Regions from separate parts of the Homo sapiens genome. Here region 2 is linked to region 1. Evidence: promoter capture Hi-C in human tissues and cell types (Jung and others, 2019). All regions are on one chromosome and are shown on one strand. The core of a region is centred on a gene start or on the middle of the fragment in contact, and the rest is flanking DNA. Distances in the headings are between cores, read along the strand shown. Region 1 holds the start of WDR5 (WD repeat domain 5). Region 2 holds the start of UBAC1 (UBA domain containing 1).

Region 1 (3,169 bases), core at 577-3,076:
GCCTCCCAAAGTGCTGGGATTACAGGCGTGAGCCGCCGCGCCCGGCCGGATTTTCTCATTTTTACTAGAAGGTTCTATCTCCTGGGGGTGGGGTGAGGTGGTGAGACCAATTCACCTGGAAGTGGAAGCTGGGAACTTGGTTTGAGTTCTGAGGGTTCTGGGGTCTCGCCCCTTATCTTGCTTTGCCTGGAGGGCTGAAGGGCTGGAAATATTTTTGTTTTGGGGCTGGAACCAGGACTGCAGTTTGGGAGCCGGTGCTAGGTTGGAAGAGGAGGCGGGGTCTGGTAAGCACTTTAGCCGAATTGAGCAGTGGGAATTAGGGAATTGAGGGCAGTGGGAAGCTGGTTCTGAGTTTTAAACTGGGGAGTGACAGATCAGAGCTGGATTTTTAGGAGTTTCTCTGTTTGGAGGTTTAGAAAAGACCCAGGTGGGAGGTAGGGCTGGGGTGGGGAGGGAGAGAAGTGGACGATCTGAGAGCTGAGGTGGGGTGGAAGGAGAGCAGCGTGTCACGGGCTCGGGATTCCGGCCCAGGCGGCCAGGTGGACGGAGATAAAGATGCGCTTCTTCATCCGAACTGGGTTTGCTAACCTGTGACTGTCACCACTCCATGCTCCAGGGCACCTGGCCCAAGGGATCCGGCCTCTTGGGCACACAAATCCATATGGAGCCCTGAAGGACCAGACAGGGACCTTGCCTTCTCTGTGTCCTTCCTGGGAAGGGGACTCCAGACCAACTGCCAGTCTTCCGGTTCCACCTCTCTGACAACCGCTCACCTCACCCTCCTTGGCATTTTTATTTCAAATGCTCTATCCCTTTGTTTGCATGGGTTCCTGTGTCATATTCTGTGTTCCCATTTTTAATTGGAGAATAAGGGACTGTATGTTATTCTACCCACAGGCCTAGCTGAGGGGATAGGGAGGCCATGCCTACCTCCAAGGCTCTAAGAAGTGAAGCAGGCGGCGAGAATGTGCAGTCGTTGAGGCCAGAGGACCGGGCCTCAGCTTCTCCTTAAGCCCCTGAGTCCTCCTCTGGGGACCACCCCCTTGTACCTGGAGGTGAAAATGCCCGCCCAGGAGGGAAGGGCTGGCCCCGGGAGAGCCCGCTGCGAAGTGAGTTTGCGCACTGCGGAGCGGGCGCGGGTGACTCCAGAGCGGCCCTGCCAGTCCGCGGGGCTGGCGGGGAGCAGGTTCGTGCACCGCGGGCTCTGTGCATGCAGAGGCGGGAAGAGCCCCCAGCCCGGCAGCCGGCCCCGCGGGAAGGCGCAGCCCGGGCTTCCGAACCCTGTGAACGCGCAGGTTCCTGGTCTTCCAGATGGGCAGGAATCGTCCTGCCCGCCCGGGGTGGGAGGCCACATGGGGGCACTGCGCCCGGGCGCGGCCCCAGGTGCTTTCCAAATGCCCACTGCCGCTCTCATCCGTACCAGCGATGATCAAGAAGGGGCCTGGTCGCCCGGGGAGGTGCCCCGGCCCGAATCGACTCCGGAGACAACGCCGGGCGACGCCACCTGCGCAGGTCCCGGAGGGCCGCTGGTGTCTGTGTACAGGGCGTGCTGTCTGTGGAAACGCGAGGGCACACTAGCACTTTCCTGTATGTATTATTATACTTCAGTTTTTAGGAAGTGCATTAGAAGGGCCTGCACCAGTCAAATTCGGGGATTAAAGCTTTTAAGCGGGAAGCGCGCGCCCCGTGCTGTCCCTTTAAAGCGTTGGGCCGGCCCGAGGCATTCTGGCCGCTGTCGCTGCCCGTAGCGCTCCTCCGAGAGGCCGGCTTTGTGAGCTCGCCCCGCCCCCCGGACACCGCCCCCTCCCCTCGCGCACGCGCACTGCGCCCCCGCCGCCTGGCGCCCGCCCGAGCTGCCGCCTTGTCGAGCTGAGTCCGCGCTCCCGCCCAGGCGGCGGCCGACGCGACGCCCCGAGCGCCCGGCCCCGCCGCCGCGGCCCGGCAGGTAAGCGGGCAGCCGCCCGGCCCGGGGAACACAAGGCGGGCAGCGGGGCGGCGCCAGAAGCTTCCAAACCGCACCCGGCCGCCGCACGTGTTCCCCGCCGGGCCTCGGGCCAGGCCCAGCCCCGGGCGCTGCTCCCGCTGCAGCGGCCCCGCCCGGGACCCCCGCCCCGGCCCCTCGGTGGACGGCCGCGCGCGCAGTTCCCTCCACCCGGTCCGCCCCCACTCGCGCCCCCACCTCCGCCTCCCCGGCGGACCGCTGACAAGGCCAGAGCGCCGGCACTGGGTCCTCTTTCCCGCAGGCAGCGTGCCCGGCCTCACATCGCCCCTCTCCCTCCACTGCCCCTTCAGGGAAGGACCCCAGACCCACCAAGCCACTCAGTCCCTGGACGAGGTGCGCTTCCCCTCCTCGTAGAAACGCCCCCAGCCCGCTCCCGCCGCTCACCCCAACCCGAGGCAGCCAGGCTGCAGCTCGCTAGGTGGGGTCCTGGGGTGCGGGTCCTCGGTCCTGAACGGTAGGCCCACCGTGCCTCCTCGCGCGGGGCCGCAGACCTGTCCTGGCCGGTCTGCGAGAGCCATTTTGAGCGGTTACGTTCCCGGACCAAACAGAGGTCGGCCTGTTACATCGCTAACGACACTCCCTGCTGTCTCGCTTGCAAGTTTCCACTCACCCCGGTCCGTTTACCCATCTCCTCAAATGCTAGTTTAATCTGTGACCTGGGCAGGTGCTGTCCTAGCCGGTGGGGAAGACAGGAAAGCGAAGGACCCAGGCGGGGAGCCTGTCCAGGATCTCAGATAGGGAGAGCCAGGTCCCCACCTCTGTTGGGCCGGCCACCCGGCTGGTGTTTAAGATGCAGATTAATTCCTGTCTTTGCACACAGTATGCTTTTCTGACTGCATGTCACAGGCAGATTCCTGGGCTCCACCTCAGGGACTGAGGGACTCAGGAATCGGCCTGTGGCATGCAGTCCAGGAGGGCACACTGAGGTTTGGTTGCTCGGCTTCAGGTGGTCAGGCTTACCTGGATGAAAAGCAGTGGCTGCTAGGAGGAGCCAGGCAGCATCTGGTCTAGGGGCCGCCAATTCATCACCGTTCCCGTAACCTTGGCCCCCGCTTTCCTCAAGATCAAGTCTCCAACCTTCCTGTTCTCTCAAAAGGATTGTTCCACAGAGACACCTGAGTGTTCATGAAAATGCCAAGCCTTGGCCCGGCGCGGTGGCTCACGCCT
Region 2 (2,867 bases), core at 58-2,557, 1.8 Mb after region 1:
CTCAGCTCAAGTGTAACGCACTCAACCTGTCAACACAGATACGTCGTAACTTATCACATGGAGTCGCCACTAGAAAATTGCAGCCTCCTTCAACCTAAATTCTGCCAAGCCCTCAGATCATGTCAGGTATAGACAGGAGGTCAGTCTGACACACAGACAGGCTTCTTAGCTGACCTTACTGAGTCCTTTAGAGACTCGAGAACTAGTTCCAAAAATCAGCAACCTAAGGAACTAAATACACAGGAGTATTTCAGGTGAATAAACTTTAAAAAGTGTCTCCGCGAGGAGACCCTACTCCTGGGACTTCTCTCTTGACCAATTTTACCTCTGCAGAAAAGCAGGGGCGCAGGGCCTTGTCCCGCAGCGGCACTATTTCAGGGACTCCAGCTAAAAGGCACAGTGGCCTGGGGCCAGCCAGGAAAAGAGCTCCAAGCAGCCGGCTCTGCGGGAAAGGGGAAGAGGAAGGAGAAGGGGCCTCTTCATGAAGGAGCCTACGTTAATTCTCAGCTCTCAAAGATGCTGCTGAAAAAAAACCTCACCCCAACAGCAAAAAGGTACAACTGCCGGAAAGTCCCGAGGCCCTGCTCCGTCGGCGACTTCACTCTCCAGGCCTCAGTTTCCCGATCTGCCCCTACCTCCCTGCGTGGCTGCAGAGTTAACTGAGAGGCTGGCGTGTACAGGGCTCGGCCGGGCGGCTGGCACGGGGCGAGCGCTTAGTGACCGGAGTCCGCCGGCCGAAAGGCCAGGCCCGGGACGAGCGTCCAGAGGTGTGGGATCCGAAAGGGGGAGAGTCGGGCAAACGGGCAGGAGGCGCTGCCTCCACCCCCGGAGGAGAGGGCCTGGGAGCTGCGGACTGGGCGGCGGACCCCAGGTCGGGGCGGTTCGGGGACTGAGGCGGGGTCCGCAGTCGGAGGGGTCCGGAGCGGGTGTTGGGGGCAGGGGAGGGGGCCCGGCCTTACGTGCTTGAGGCAGCGCTCCTTGAGCTTCTCCACCGAGGTGTCCTCGGTGGCCTCCTCCAGCCACTCGGCGCCGTCGGACGCGCAGATGTGCAGCCGCAGCACCTTGCCCGCGAAGATCTTCTCCTCCTGCACGAACATCCCGCCGCCGCCGCAGGGGCCTGCGCCCGCCACCCGGGCCCCTGAAGGTCACCGGGAAGGCGGGCGGGGAGGGGGCGGGGCCAGACCGCCCGCGCGCTCCTTCGCTGGGCCGCCGCCCCGCCCCGGCTCCCGTCGGCCGGGCCGCCGTCACTCTCCGCGGCCTCAGCGGTCGCCTCGCTCCCGCCGCCGCAGCAGCCGCCGGGGGCGCGCCGTCGCGGCCGCACCGGAAGTGCGTCACGGGCGCGTCTGGCGCATGCCGGGAGATGTGGTTCTCGGACAGGCGCCTCGCTCCCGCCGCCGGGGGCGCGCTGTGGCCACCGCAAAGGAAGTGCGTCACGGGGCGCGCCCGGAGCATGCCGGGAGCTGTAGTTCTCTGGTAGCTTCGTTCCTCCCCGAGCTGCAGGCGGTTCCCACCCGGGGCACTCACCACGTGGGACCTCATGGGTTCTAAAGGTAAAATACACGCTGGATCCCAAAGAAGTAACGGGAAAAAGGAATGTAAGGCATCTCGATAATGTTTTCATATTGATTACATGTTGAAATAATATTTTGTATCTATTGAGTTAAGAAAAATATGTCATTAAAATTAATTTCACCTGTTTCTTTTAACCTTTTTAAGATAGAATTTTAAATTGCCTACATGGCTGCTGTGATATTTCTTTTGCACTGCACTGCTGTAGAACGGAGGCTCTCCAAAGAACTTGGCTTTAACAAGCCTAGGTCTTTCTAATTCACACGCAGATCAGAGAGTCACTGTTCCTGCGAAGCCTAGGTTTGCGGGGCACCCAGAGGGGAGGGAAGCCGCCCTTGGTGCAGGTGATGCCAGGCAGACTCATTTTCTGTGGGGTGTGACAAAGAGTCTTTGCTTGGCCAAACTTAAGCAGGCTCCTGAACCTTCTACATCATCTGTACACTTCCTTGTAAAATCCAGTTTTAGCGAAGAGCCTTGATAAGTGAGTTTAGCAAGAACTCCCAGCCTCAATATCAGATCACCCTGGACGTCTGGTCAGGTTCCTCGTCCCCCAGGTGCTGTCTGATATCTCCAGCCTCTCTTCAGCAAGAACCCTGTCAGGTCGGTTTAGCCAGAACCGCCCACATCCCTGATGTTTTCTCCTATTAATTTTCCATTCACTGACCCCACCCACTTGCCCTTGCTGTATTGGGAGTTGAGCCTGACCTCTCTCCCCACTGCAAGCCCCCTTGGCAGTGGTCTCTGTACCTAGCTCAACAGTCCTGGATAACGTCTTACTTACCATGCTCCTAAATATGAATTTTGTAGTTCAGGTTAGACCTGACACATTGACTGATCTGTACTCATTCATCCCATTCATTTAAAAAAACTTTACTGCGCAGAGATGAATAAGGCACAGTTCCCGTTCTCAGAGGTTAGCAATCTAACCGGGGAGGCTGTCTCTGCCTCCTGCCTGCAGGCTTTTATTCTGTCCACACCATTTTGCACACACATCCTCATTTTTCTCCTGTGATAATTCCAACCTCGTCCAGATTCCATGTGTCCAGTTCAGCACTTACTAATTGCCTCTCACAGGTGGGAGCCTCTGCTACTCAATGAAAATATGGTAGTGATTAAGACCAGACACCAGGATACAGTCCTGGAATGGGGCATTTTTAACGCAGGAAGCAGAAGTACCGACTGTTAGAGACCGCAGTGGAGGTGGTGGTAGTATCGTGGAAGCTGGTGGAGGAGAAAGGGGAGGAACACCAAGGTGGTGAGTGGAGAGTGGGGGAAGCTAGAGGGCTTGGAGGAGCCGG

What was found. Contacts are between HindIII fragments. The study calls those that stand out against the background at their distance.
Region 2: a contact is called between the fragment with the promoter of UBAC1 here and the fragment with the promoter of WDR5 in region 1, in 1 of the 25 tissues and cell types used here (spleen).

Annotation. Positions count from the first base shown.
Region 1 is chr9:134,134,256-134,137,424 of GRCh38, forward strand. WDR5 (WD repeat domain 5) reads left to right here and starts at 1,827. Exons shown (of 14, transcript NM_017588.3): 1 at 1,827-1,945. It overlaps WDR5-DT (WDR5 divergent transcript), which reads right to left and starts at 1,727. Exons shown (of 2, transcript NR_186420.1): 1 at 931-1,727. RefSeq lists enhancers at 868-977, 1,884-2,808 and silencers at 1,168-1,337, 1,778-1,957. The HindIII fragment of the contact is 22,361 bases long and covers 1-1,833 here.
Region 2 is chr9:135,960,066-135,962,932 of GRCh38, forward strand. UBAC1 (UBA domain containing 1) reads right to left here and starts at 1,308. Exons shown (of 10, transcript NM_016172.3): 1 at 960-1,308. The coding sequence starts at 1,097. RefSeq lists silencers at 918-1,037, 1,048-1,457 and an enhancer at 928-1,428. The HindIII fragment of the contact is 18,279 bases long and covers 1-2,867 here.